Regions from separate parts of the Homo sapiens genome. Here all the other regions are linked to region 2. Evidence: promoter capture Hi-C in 16 types of primary human blood cells and fetal thymus (Javierre and others, 2016). All regions are on one chromosome and are shown on one strand. The core of a region is centred on a gene start or on the middle of the fragment in contact, and the rest is flanking DNA. Distances in the headings are between cores, read along the strand shown.

Region 1 (3,171 bases), core at 335-2,834, 560 kb after region 2:
TGCATGCTTTCTTTAAAGACACTGCAAAGCATTTGAAGCTACTAAGATTTAATGCATTCTTTACCTTAAAGCAAGCACCGATTGGCGGCACAGAGTTCACACAGAGATAAAGAACGAGAAGGACAATGAGAAGTCATGTGACAAAGAGGTCAGAGCATTCAATCCCAGAGAACTGGGATTGTAAATAAGTTCTGCCACTTTCCCACTATGTGACTTTGGGCCAGTTACAAAGTATTCATGAATTTCAGTTTTCCTCTGATGTAAAATGAGGTTAATGGTAATTGTTTTAATGACTCAATTATAACCATATAATTATCTGTATATTTACGGCTCTATATATTTAAAATACCTTTTAAATACCTGGCACAGTATAAGTACCCAATATTTCTCTTAATTTTAAGATAACAGATTATAACAGATTATAACAAATTTAAGATAACAGACTACAAACCTGAAGGAATCAAGTTTCCAAAGACCAGCGATCCATCTGAAGTGGATGAGTAAATGGTGACATTCATCCACCCAGTTGCTAATTCATCCATCAGTCCTTGAATAAGGCACATGCTTACTGGCTTACTGAGATTTCTCCAGTGTCCAAGATAGATAGAAGCAAGACTTAACTGATGTTTTCTCACTCTTAGTCCAATGCTGCTTTATGGTATTCAAAATAAAAATCCTTAAGGCTGAGAAAAAATGAGAAGGGCAAGTTCAGAAATGTAGAATATTTTAGAATTTCATTTGAGAAGAGAGGTGAAGAATTTTCTGATGGTATGTTCTGATAAAATAGGTGTGAATCAGAACTGTTATCTGTCAAGAAAGTAGATTTCCATTATAATCTCTGATACTAGATCCCCATGAATGGTGGATCAGATAAAGAAAATGTGGTGCATATACACCATGGAATATCACACAGGCATACAAAGAATGAGATCATGTCCTTTGTAGCAGCAACATAGATGCAGCTGGAGGCTATAATCCTAAGTGAATTAGTGTAGAAACAGAAATCCAAATACCACATGTTCTCACATGTAAGTGAGAGCCAAACAATGGGTACACAGGGACACAGAGATGGGAACAATAAACGCTGGGAATTCCAAAAGAGGGAGGGAAGGAGTAGGGAAAGGGTTGAAAAACTACCTGTTGGGTACTATGTTCACCACTTGGGCAATGGGTTTATTAGAAGCCCAAACTTCATGTAGAAAAAATAGCGAAAACAGGGCAAATCGACTGTGACTGGTAGGAGCTAATCATGTAGTTAGAATAATGAAGCATTTGCCAAAGTAAATCCAAAACATCTGTAAAGCTGCCAATTAAGTACAAATTGATAAGTCATTATGTATAAGGGTGATTCATAATACTGGAGATAATAAACATTAATTCTTACAGTTCATTTGTCCATTTTGTGCCGGGAAAGTCACTGAGGTTTCTGGACTCCTTTCAACTCATTTATAAATGGGTGAGACATGACCAAGCTTTATCACTTTTATATAAATCGCTTTTATTATTTAAGACATACCTTTTAGGATTCTACTTTTAAATTCTACCATCACCACTTGTCTTTCTTCTTCTCGCCTTCAGTTCCCAACACACAGACACACACACACACGCACACACACACACACACACACAAACACCATATTTGAATATCACATGATGGGAGAAATGAACAACTATATTAACCAACAGGTGAGTTATTGCAAGCTTTGCATAAACAAGAGTTGAATCCCAGTGGGTATTACAGGCTTCTCATCTACCCTTTGATTCTCCCTTCTGCCATCACATATAGAATAAGCAAAGGTCTTCTGATGAAAAGTTGCAAATATGTGGCAAAACAGGAAAGATGGAACACTGATGAAGAGTTTTCTAATATTAGTTTTGCTGAAGAGCTGGTGTGATTAGAGGCAATAATTAGTTTGAATTTTTGTAGGTAAAATACAGCATCATGAGCCACATTTGGCCATTCTTTGAAATGTTCAACCAAAATAGATTGTTATGCCCATATCCCATTTTGCATTATATGATCATGGTTAGAATTAACAAAACACTTGTGAAGAGCTGCCTGTTGCAATGGCTGGAGATTTGAATTGCTCAGAACGATTTCTTTTGAGATTGCCAGTTCTACTTTGAAACTAGACTTATTAACACAAACATCTAAGATGTACCTTGAGGCCCCCTTGAGAATTACTTGTCTGCAGCTATTTATTCATTATTTAGTCATGAACTGGTAACATGTCAGGCATGGAGAAGAAATTGTGTTGCCTTCCTGTAAAGGTAGAAAAGTCAACTATCTGTTAAATGAAAACGTGTAAGTTTGAGAGCTACTTCTCTTGCACTCAATATTTTCTTTAAAATTTTTAAGAAGCAGGTGGGTTATCAGTGTTGAAAGCTAATGTGTGTGTGTGTGCGTGTGTGTAATTAGATTTCTCATCACCTACTTTTGTCCCAAGAGACACTTTCCCTTAATGCTATATCATCATACTATTTTCATAGGAGCAGAATATCATCTTTTTCTTTTTAACTCCCTGTCAAAACCTGATCATCTACTTGCCTGAGTTGAGTAGCCATTAATGTTAGATACTTTATTAGCTAGTTCTATGATTTGGGAATATCATTCAACTTCTTTTTCTCTCAGTTTGAAGGAGTTAGATTAGATAATATTTAAGCAGTTTCAACACTCTATCCCTCTACAAAATAGCAAAATTTGTATTCACTCACTTGAATGTACCATAAACAGTTGTGGGAGTGAATAGCTATGGAGTGCCCATTAAGTAATGTCCAGCATAATTATGTTTATTGGCTTGTCATCACTGTGGTTGATGGGCAGAGAGCAGGTATTCTATTTCCTTTACATGTACCCTAGGTCCTCAACCCTGGTTATCTAAAACTGTGATCTACATAGAGTGGTTGCTCAATTGTAGACTGTCTTATATTTGAAAAATATTACAGAGTCACCCTTGTGGGTAGAGGAGTAAAAAGGATTGCTTCTCCAATGGTTTTAATCTATGAATTTGGATGTGCATGCACTATTATTAGAATTCTCATAGGATTAACAAAATCTGCATCTTCTAACAATATTGCAGTGGGTGATGGTGATTTGAAACTTGTCCAAAGTCACACAGCTGGTAAGTGTGAGATGCAGTACTAGTAGCCAGGCCTCTGATGTTAACAGTT
Region 2 (3,192 bases), core at 1-2,500:
CCCCACACTTCCATTCCTGTGTCATACGTTCCAAGGTACTGAAAATATTTCTTGCTGACAGCAAACAGTCCTCCAGCCATGGTAGGTGATCTGATGGGGTCAATTCTTGATATCCGCCTGTCCCTTTCCTGTTTGGGGACAGAATGCCACTGAAATGTTAAACGCCAGTCAAACCCACCAATCATGGGCTCCCCTATCTGCATATAGAATTCAAAAGTATTCCAATCAATTGTGTCTATAACAGGACACACAACTGCTGTTTCATCTCTCCCAATCCTTTCCAAAAGCGGTTCCAGCCAACCGGAATTACACTCACAGTGACAATCCAGGAAAGTGAGGACGTCCCCAGTGGCGAAAGTGGCCCCAATCAGACGGGCCCTAACCAGCCCCTCTCGCTTATTGGTCCTAATCAAGCGTACTCTATCAAGATTGCTGATGTAAGTTTCAAGTTGTGTCTTCAAATAAACTCTGTCACTCAAGTCATCCACCAAGATGATCTCTTTCAAAAGAACTGCAGGAGAAGTTTCTAAAACACTGTGAATGGTACGGAGCAAAGTCGACCAGGCTTCGTTATAGAAAGCAATGATAACAGAGGTGGTAGGAAGTGTCCTATAGTTGAACTTCTGGGACTTACACTCATACATTCTTTTATCCTCTATGTGTCGATGCAGGGAAATCCTGTCACTGAGGTAAATATTGATGGCGTATCTCTCAATGAGTTCTTCTTGCTGCTTCAGTTCATCCTCGTTGAGCTGGAGTTTGCTGGCTTTCCCCCACTCCCCAAGTGCACGGGAATCTGCAGGGGGCTTCTTATAAAGCGGTCGAGACAAATCCTCCGTATTTTTCTGGAGGTCTGAGAGCCTTCTTGACCCCAGCTCCCTGGCACGGCCGGCTCCTGCGGAGGCATGAAAAGTAGAGACCAAGAGCTCCACGAAGATATAGGCCACTGTTAAAAACGCCAGCAGCAGGCAGCTCTTGCCTGCCCAAGTCCACCTCACCGCCATCCGGATTCTCAGGGCTGAGGCGCAGACGCGGCCACCAAGCCACCACGCAGGGGAAGGGCGGCGGAACCCACAGCTCGAGCTCAGGTACTTCCCAGCAGGTTCTTCCTTTCATGCAGGCGCTAGGCTCCTTTCCAGCCACCCAGGCTTTCCAGGGGTCACCTGAGCCCTCTCGGTCCTCGGCCTCCGGCACAGCCCAACTCCTCTCTCCCTACTTCCTCCTGCTCGGCTCACAACTTTTCACAAACTCTCCAGCCAACACCCCACCCTCCCCGGGCCGAGGAGAAACCCCTCCCCTTCCCACTCACTCCTCCTGGTGGTTAGTTTGCGAAAGTCGTCCGCCAGGCCCAGACCGCTGGATAGGAGGCTCTTGGCCGGGCCGGGGGCTGGGGGCCGGGATGGCAGAGGGGGCCCTAGCTGCGCCCCGCCGCGCTGGGCCCTCGTCTCCGGGTGCTCTCAACCCTCATACAGGCCCTTAGCCGTTCTCCTAGGGACCCTGCCCGGACAGGAGGAAAGGTTTCCGGCCCATGGAGTTTAGTCTCATTACAAAAGCAAAACAAGAATAAGACTTACCAAGTTGCTTGCCGTTGGGGCTGAGGTCCAAGGAGGTGATCGCAGCTTTGTGGCCTTTGAAATAACGCTCCAGAACGGGGTCCTCCTGGAAAGGAAAGTTGTCAAGTTTTGAAAGCCGCCGCAGACCTCGAATTCTGGCGGCTGGGATCCACGCTGCCACTTCCCCGGAGTCCGGCTTGGGAATGGCCACCCAGGCGGCGGCTTGGCTGGGCGGCGGGGCCGGGCAGCAGCCCACCCACGGGCGCGGCGCCCAGTCCTGCTACAGGGAGACGCCGGCGCCAGCTCTCCCCGCAGAGCCCGCAAAACGCTCTGTTCGCGCTTCCCAGAGTCCAGCGCATCGCAGGAACCGCGGCCCCTTTGAAATGCACGTTCCCGGGCCCCGCCCGCTGGCCCAAGGCAGGCAGGTGCGAGGATGCGCCTCGGCTTTGGTACTTTTTTTTTTTTTAATACTTCCTAGGTGATTCTGACGCAGGCGCTCCACGGAAACCCTCCGAGAATTCTGGGGGCCGTGGGGCCGCCCAGCTCAGTCCGGAGCTCCGGAACTCGGGGAAGAGCGTCCGGGAGCCGGGTCTGGGTTCCGCACTCCGTCCGCCCCGATGGCAGAGAGTGAGATACGGACGCCCCGGGACGAGGGGCTCAGGACCCGGCTACGGACACCTGCCTCCATCTCCCTCCAGGTGCGGCTTCGGCCCGGACCTGGCCCCGCAGCCCGCGGGACAGGCTCCAGGGAGGGACCCCCCCCACCTCCAACCCGTCCTTACCGTGGCTGAGGCCATCGGGGGAGTGGTCGGCCCAAGGCTCCTGTGGGTGGGGGAACCCGGAGAGGGGAGGGGAGAGGATGGGGAAGGAGAGGGGACCGTGCGGCTCCCGGAACCGTCTGCCCAGAGCGGCAGCGCCTCCCGGTCACTACAACAACGGCGGCCCAGTCAAACCCCGCGCTCCAGGCATGGCCAGCCGAGCCCCGAGACACCGCCAGCCCTGTAAAGAGAGGACGGGAGGTATGCGCCGGGTCAGCTGTGGCCACACACCAAGCCATGTTAACTAACACTCGCGTTCTCCCTGGTTTGATGTCAGGAAGTGGGGTAGTAACCAGGACTGGAATAAGAGCGATGAATGGAAGGGCGTTGTGAGCCTGTGATCGATGCGATCAGAGTTCTATTACGTTTTAAAGAGACAGCACCCGTGACGTTTAAGGTGATCCCCTACCGCTTATTTTGTTGACGTAAAGCTTTGACATGAAGAGGGGCAGCTTGCTAGTTATTAATATACTAAAAGGAACTAAATCCCCTGAGGGCAGATTTGAATTTATTTAACCACTGTTTTCCACACAGTGCCCTGCAGGATATTGATATAGTTGCTGGATGTGCGTGATGAATGAATGAGTGAATGAATGAATAAATGTTGTGCATGCACTTAATAATTTTCTGCGATATGTTTCCATTCTCATCTGCTTATTTGCGTATACCTTAGAGCACTAAACTTACACAGCTGGATACTTAAAGTCTTTAGGAAGACTTGGAAACATGGTTTTTTTTGTTTGTTTTTTGTGAGACCACGTTTCTACAGCAGGCTTTGTTACACATAGTATCATTTGTGCTTCAGCCAAACAATGAAGTTG
Region 3 (3,693 bases), core at 1,176-3,675, 530 kb after region 2:
TTTCTCCCACTCTTACCGCATCTCTGCTCCTTTGTTGTGAACCTTGGTCCAACTTTGTCTTATGCCTGAATTTGGCTCATGCCTGACTTTGGCTCTGTCCCACTTCTTCGCCTGCCTCAGGGCCTGCGCTTTCCCTGTGGCCAAGGATCCTGAGGACAAAGGCATTCTGAATGTGATATAAGAGTTTCAGAGCAGCATGCCTGAAGACAGTTTTAAGTGTTTACCAGTTTCCTTTGCTCCTCCTGGGGCGGAGGTAAAGAAGGAGAGGAGAGGAAGAACTGGCATCAAACATTTAGAAGATAATTAAGAGGACCTCAAGCTGCCTTTGTTGAGTGTATCTCCTGAAGTGCAGATAAAATCAGTATCAAGGATCAGACCGACCATGAGGATGAAAGTCCCATGGGAGAGGAACTAGAAATTTCATTGAGTAGGACTCAGCACAAGAGGTGCCTCAGCAGCCTCATCTTGGGTAAGCCACTTACCATCTTTGAGCCTTTGTTTTATTATCTGTAAGATGAGGACAATAATGCCTGTGGTGCCAGGTTGGGTTTCTGGCAAGCAGAAAGTTAATTTGCTGAATTATTAGAGAAGGCTCTTGGTATCAACACCCATGAAAACTAAGGAGGCAAAATCAGAATGGCGTAGGGAAAAGTCAAGGTCGGGTTTGTCCTGCATTGATCTGAAATGCCTGGACCTTCATACCCCTGCCTCCATCAGTCACTGGATGAGTGCCACCTGGGAAGGATGTAGGGGGTCTGATCCTTGAAGGGGCTGTCAGTTGAAGGATGCTTCCTGATGGCTCTCTCAGTAGTAGGAACAAAAAGTCATTCCTTGACGGGATCTGGGTAACATTTTTTGTGTGTTTCTTACCTATTAAACCTGGTTTTGTGAGAGAAACTAACTGTAAAACTTACTATAAATGTTAATTTTATAATTCATATGATGATCAAACTTTTATTAAGGGTCTACTGTGTAATAGCTACTTGATATAAATAAAAACATTAAACCTGACATTTTTCTCTTTCCTTTTTTTTTGATACTGAGTCTTGCTCTGTCACCCAGGCTGGAGTGCAGTGGTGTGATCTTGGCTTACTGCAACCTCCACCTCCCAAGTTCAAGCGATTCTCATGCCTTAGTCTCCTGAATACCTGGGACTACAGGCAAGTGTCACCACACCCAGCTAGTTTTTGTGTTTTTAGTAGAGACAGGATTTCACCACGTTGGCCAGCTGGGCTTGAACTCCTGGCCTCGTGATCCACTTGCCTTGGCCTCCCGAAGAGCTGGGATTACAGGAGTGAGCCAGGGTACCCGGCCTGACTTTTTTTTTAATGTATGTTATTTCTTCTCTTAAAGTTGATAGTCTTTAGACCCATTGCAGTAATCCTCAAACAACCATTGAAGGATCAGGGTCGCACAAAAATACATATTGGTTACTAACTATGTTCAACACTTCAGAAATGTGAATCTTTTCTGCATAAAGTTCTTCCTTGGCATTTCAACACCATAAACAGTAGAATATTTTTGGCAATTGTTAAGCAGGGTAATTGCCAATACATAATTTTTGATCCACTATGACATAATTACAATAACAAAATTTACATATCTTAGTACTTCTTGAAGAACAAAATAAAAAATACTTTTAAGTTAAAACATTCTTGAAGAATACATAGTGGTATAAAAACTGAGCCTCAGGAAAAAAATAAAGGGAAATGCCATTTAATATGTTTTATTATCAACTGGGGAGCCAAAAATAAGTCATACGTAATGGAATTTCATTGTGTAGCAGTGGAATTTCCCCCAGAGTTTTATTAAAAGCTTTAACACAGTTTGAACTCCTCAGTGAAGTCAATGGCCTGGCCAAGGTCTGAGTCAGCATTTTAAGTAAATATGCTAATTTTTTAGCTCAACAAAGAAAATGTTACTTTTAGTGCATTTCCAATTTAAAACAATCTTTTTACTCTACTAGTTATAAACTATTCAGTGTAACCTAACTGAATGTTTTGATTGGTTATATTAAAATTTGCATTTCCTCAACAGTCTGAGAATGGTTTACTTGTTGACTGATCACAGTAAGAAGATTAAATTAGTAGTCCATGAATTAATAAGAAGTGCATTAGATGTTGATACAAAGCTTAATACAAATCATAATAGTGATCATTTTGCATTTGTATCATTTTACGCATTCAAAAGGATAAACCACATTCATTAGTTGATTTTAAAACATTAGATATGTCTATGTATGCAAATGAAAGTGGAGGATAAGAAAATAGATCTAAAAAATTAATTTTTCACTTGTCCTATCATTATCCGCTCTTTAGAAACCCTGCAGGTATAATAGAAAATTCTATAATCTTACTGTTCAGAGTGTGAACCTTGATTGAGAATAGGTGTCACTTGGTTGCCTGTTAGAAATGCTGGTTTTCAGGCCTTACGCCAAACCTGCTACACTGGAATCTGCATTTTACCAAGATACCCAGGTGATTTGTATTCACATTAAAGTTTGAGAAGAATTAAATCTGCAGTGCTTTTGTCTCTGACAAACTGAAGTTAAAATTCCAGTTTTTTTAACATTATCCAAATAATTGCTTCTTCCCTTTAGTTACACAAATAAATATAAGTATAACATATTCTGAGGCATAAAACTCCATACAGAAATGTGAGTCATTGAAGTTAATTTCTGTTTTAAATTCTGAGGAACTAAAGGTATAGGGTAGAATTAGGAAGCTTCTCTTTGAATAAAAATGTTCAAGTTATCCAATTACAAAATATGATTAATAGGCCTAATTTTATTTTTGTATATATTTGACCTTTTCCATCAGAATGATTTCCTAGAAATGTTAAATGGAGGGTTCAGGAAGCAAGCAAAGAAAACAATTTCCATCAAATAACATTATTTGACCACTGCTTACACAGAACAATCATCTTATGAACTATTTTCTCATTTCTTTGCATAAGTGAAATTTCAAAACAATGCTTTCCCCCACTCCCTTCATTTCTTGTGGGTAGCATAAGAGGATTTGCAACCCTGCTTGGTTTATGAGTCTCATATTACTGACTTTGCTCTGCAGATAGATGAAATAGGACCTCAAATGCAGTGGATGTTATGGTTAAAGCTGTTCTTATGTCATTTAGAGATTGTTTTTAGATTAAGGATCATTTGACCTTGAGTGACGGTGGTTGCTTAATTACCTATCATGGTGCCTCCAATAAGAGGTTGTCCAGTGCTGTCAGCCCATTACCTGCCTGTGCCATTCTAAAGCTTCTTGCTTCAGAAGATCTCTCAGCAGGGTTAGAACAAGGTAAAGAGCTTAAATAAGCAAGCTATATTTATCAGCAATAAACAGCAGTCCCTGCAAATGTCCTACCCAGTAAATTAATCTATAAAGGGATGGCTCTACCTGCATGAAAATAGAACTGATTTTCTAAAATTATTTATTAGTATTATTGTGAGCAGATAATACTCTACCATTGATAATAATAGAGACTTGTATAGCAGTTTCATGGCAGTCCCTATAAATATATCAGAAAAGATGAGTGTTTTTTTTTTTTTTTTGAGACAGAGTCTCACTCTGTTGCCCAGGCTGGAGCACAGTAGTGCTATCTTGGCTCACTGCAACCTCTGCCTCCTGGGTTCAAGCAATTCTTGTGTCTCAGCCTCCGAGTAGCTGGGACTACAGGCATGCACCACCATGC
Region 4 (3,440 bases), core at 213-2,712, 730 kb after region 2:
AATTATGGCACCCTTCAATCTATAACCCTCCAGTGGCTCCCAAATGAAATAAAGTCTAAGCTTCATTTCCTTACATGAGAAGCCCAGAGAGAATGTGGCCTATGCTTTCCTCTTCAATGTCATTTTGTAATTCTAACCCTCTCACCCTCCCATCAAGCTACAGCCATGCTGGTCACCAGGTCCCTAACAAGCCAAGCTCTTTCCAACTTTAGTCCTTTACATTAGTTTTTCCCTTTGCCTACTATGTTATTCTAGTTTTTGCATAGTTGTGTCCTTTAGATCTCAGCTTAAATATCACCTCCAGAGAAAGGCTTTTCTTGATCTACAAATCTAAAGTAGCTGTCTGGTAAGTCCCTCTCTTTTATATCAGTCCATTTTAACACTCTGCTTGATACTTAATGATGTGGCACGGGGGTTAAATGCCTTGCTTCTGAAGCCAGACTGCTGGGACCCATTATTACTCCACCACGGAGTAGTTGTATGACTTTATCAAAGTTGCTTGTCTCCACTATTCAATTTCCTATTTGTAAATAGGATGTAATTAATTATCTTTCATGAGGTTTCTGCGGGAATTCATATGTGTAAAAGAACACAAACCACATAAGAGAGAGAATGGTGACTGGCTCATTACAGCATTAGAAATATATTAGATATTATTGTCCCTGATATCTGATATTTATTGATTTATTATCCAGTTTTCTCAACTAGAATATATGTTCAATAGAAGCAGGCACCTCATCTTTTCTGATTGCTTTAGATTCTTCCTGCTGCTGATTCCTAGGGCAGTGCCTGGCACATGGCAGCAATGATGTCAGGGAGAGGAGGTATGAGAATGACCTGCTCATCCTTGGTTTCTTTTTGCCTTCCTGACCTCTCTCAGCTTTCTGTGTTGCTGCTCTGTGAGTCTAGAGCAATGGAAACAAGCATAGCTGCGTGCAGCAGTCCTTGCAGGGACGCAATGACAATGACAGCCTCTGCCCTCCTTGTTTAGGAAGCACAAAACTTGTCCTCAGCCCATGATGGCTATTCAGGAATGTGGGTACAATGCTTTCAGATCTGTCTTTTATAAAGAAAAGCCATAAATGTAAACATTTTCTGTATAAAATCACCCAAGTTGCAAATGCTTACAACCAGTTCAAAATTTTAAAAAAGACCTATGACCTATGACCAAACAAATCATGTTTACAGGCTGGACTTGGCCTGGGGTTCACCTGTCTACAATCTGTGCTCTTTACAACCTGTGATCTTGAACTTGAGCTCTTGGTTTTTTCTCTTTTTTTTGAGACAGGATCTCACTTTGTTGTCCAGCCAGAGTGAAGTGGCATGAACACGACTCACTGCAGCCTCAACCTTCCAGGTTCATGTGATCCTCCAGCCTCAGCCCCGCCAAGTAGCTGGGACTACAGGCACATGCCATCACAGCAGCTAATTTTTGTATGTTTTGGTATAGACAGGGTTTCACCATGTTGCCAAGGCTGGTCTTGAACTCCTGAGGTCAAGAGATCCACACACCTTAGCTTCCCAAAGTGTTGGGATTACAGGTGTGAGCCACTGTGCCTGGCCTTGTTTTTCTTTATTTCCTTTTTTTTTTTTTTTTTTTTTTTTGTGACAGAGTCTCACTCTGTTGCCCAGGCTGGAGTGCAATGGCAGCATCTCGGCTCACTGCAACCTCTGCCACCCAGGTTCAAGTAATTCTCCTGCCTCAGCTTCCCGAGTAGCTGGGATTACAGGCATCCACCATCACACCCGGCTAATTTTTGTATTTTTTGTAGAGACAGGGTTTCACCATGTTGGCCAAGCTGGTCTTGAACTCCTGACGTCAGGTGATCTGCCCCAAAGTGCTGGGATTACAGGTGTGAGCCACCATGCCTGGCCCTGGCCTTGTTTTTCAATTTTGAGGTCAGTGTCCTCTGCTCATGGACACCTTTCAGACAAACTACCTGAGGACCACACTCTGCAGCTGCATGTTCCTGAATCTTGCCATTGCATTTTCCTGAGTATATTTGGTCTCTTTGACTCACTACACACACCCTCCCAAGATGGCACCCTTTACCCTGGATCTTGTTCCTGGGTTTAACAGATATTAGATGAGAGTTACCGTGGTTCACACCAAATTAGGTGGGGTATGTCAGAGAGTCGAGGATGAGGAAGGTGGATAGTTTGGGCTCTGGTTTAAAGGTTTATTATTGGAGAAAGATGTCATCTGAAGAAAGGGACTTCCATTTCCCATTTCTCCCTTCCTTCCTTTTTCCTTCCCTCTGCCCTATGGTAACCTTAGTCTAATCTCTGTCCTCAATCAGCAGGTTTGCTGACATTTAGAGGGCTGTTATGGCAGTCATGTCTTTCTGAGGCCTTGCCTTTTTAATGAACATTTGGCTGGGGAAAGGGGGCAATCTAGAACAGCTGTGTCCAAACTTTTTAGATTGCATGTCTTCTTACCAATAAAAAATTAAGCATTCTTCCCTATATGTATATTTACTTATTATTTGATATGCAATCTAGTGTTCCAGTGTATTATGCACATTTTCAAACACACGTAAAATATTGATTTAAAATAATGTGATGAAATATAAACATATTTGGGAGGCTGAGGCGGGAGGATCATGAAGTCAGGAGATTGAGATCATCCTGGCTAACATGGTGAAACCCCGTCTCTACTAAAAATAAAAAAAATTAGCCGGGCATGGTGGCGGGCGCCTGTAGTCCCAGCTACTTGGGAGGCTGAGGCAGGAGAATGGCGTGAACCTGGGAGGCGGAACTTGCAGTGAGCTCAGATCTCGCCACTGCACTCCAGCCTGGGCGACAGAGCAAGACTCCATCTCAAAATAAATAAATAAATAAATAAAAATTAAAAAATATAAACATAAGCTTCATTCTCTCTTTCCAGTCCGTGGGGAATTGTCAGGTACACTTCATGGGGTGGAGATACCCAGGTCTAGAGACACATCAGACTCTAGGGTGGATGCTTTACCAGATGGGCTGTGTGAGTGCCTGCCTTACCTGATTTTTTGGTCAATTTTGCACTGGAGTGCTGTCCAGGATGTAAGTGCCCTGACAAATATGCAAGCCTAGAGCCTCATCCTCAGGACGACTGCTGGGAATCTCTGCAGGGCCCTTGGGGTTGAACAGCTGCTTGCTGAGCCTTTGACCTGAGAACCAGAGACTTATGTGTCTCTTCACTCATATTTTCTTTCTTCATTGTTTAAGAGTTGTGCAGATCACCAAAAACATAATAAAAATAATGGGAGCTGTGTACAAGCCTCACTTGGGCAGAAAAGTTGGATATCAATCCCAAAATACAGATCTGCTTGCTGCATGGAATCTGAAGATTTAATGTGCTCATGTCCCATCTAACCACAGCACCCTTCTCAGGGTGATCTCACTCCTTATGGAAATAATGGAGTTGGATTGGTTTTTTTCAAGATTATTAGGGTGTGTTT

The links. The method cuts DNA at HindIII sites, captures the fragments that hold promoters and counts their contacts. A CHiCAGO score of 5 or more calls a contact.
Region 1: a fragment that was not itself captured here is called in contact with the fragment with the promoter of GALNT4 in region 2 in 1 of 17 cell types (naive CD4 T cells); the score reaches 5.4 in naive CD4 T cells.
Region 3: a fragment that was not itself captured here is called in contact with the fragment with the promoter of GALNT4 in region 2 in 1 of 17 cell types (total CD8 T cells); the score reaches 6.4 in total CD8 T cells.
Region 4: a fragment that was not itself captured here is called in contact with the fragment with the promoter of GALNT4 in region 2 in 1 of 17 cell types (total B cells); the score reaches 6.6 in total B cells.

Annotation. Positions count from the first base shown.
Region 1 is chr12:90,079,901-90,083,071 of GRCh38, forward strand. The region is part of intron 10 of LOC105369890 (a long non-coding RNA gene); the gene reads left to right. Among named protein-coding and RNA genes, the nearest start is that of LINC02399, 130 kb to the left of the region's middle. The HindIII fragment of the contact is 229 bases long and covers 1,471-1,699 here.
Region 2 is chr12:89,523,546-89,526,737 of GRCh38, forward strand. It overlaps GALNT4 (polypeptide N-acetylgalactosaminyltransferase 4), which reads right to left and starts at 1,251. Exons shown (of 1, transcript NM_003774.5): 1 at 1-1,251. The coding sequence starts at 1,004. It overlaps POC1B-DUSP6 (POC1B-DUSP6 readthrough), which reads right to left and starts at 2,502. Exons shown (of 11, transcript NR_189589.1): 1 at 2,336-2,502; 2 at 1,575-1,659. It overlaps POC1B (POC1 centriolar protein B), which reads right to left and starts at 2,502. Exons shown (of 12, transcript NM_172240.3): 1 at 2,336-2,502; 2 at 1,575-1,659. The coding sequence starts at 2,350. It overlaps POC1B-GALNT4 (POC1B-GALNT4 readthrough), which reads right to left and starts at 2,717. Exons shown (of 3, transcript NM_001199782.1): 1 at 2,336-2,717; 2 at 1,575-1,659; 3 at 1-128. The coding sequence starts at 2,610. It also overlaps POC1B-AS1. RefSeq lists an enhancer at 968-1,177 and silencers at 1,268-1,647, 2,198-2,457. The HindIII fragment of the contact is 3,011 bases long and covers 1-2,800 here.
Region 3 is chr12:90,057,111-90,060,803 of GRCh38, forward strand. The region is part of intron 8 of LOC105369890 (a long non-coding RNA gene); the gene reads left to right. Among named protein-coding and RNA genes, the nearest start is that of LINC02399, 110 kb to the left of the region's middle. The HindIII fragment of the contact is 593 bases long and covers 2,130-2,722 here.
Region 4 is chr12:90,257,228-90,260,667 of GRCh38, forward strand. The region is part of intron 2 of LOC105369892 (a long non-coding RNA gene); the gene reads left to right. Among named protein-coding and RNA genes, the nearest start is that of LINC02392, 34 kb to the right of the region's middle. The HindIII fragment of the contact is 2,808 bases long and covers 59-2,866 here.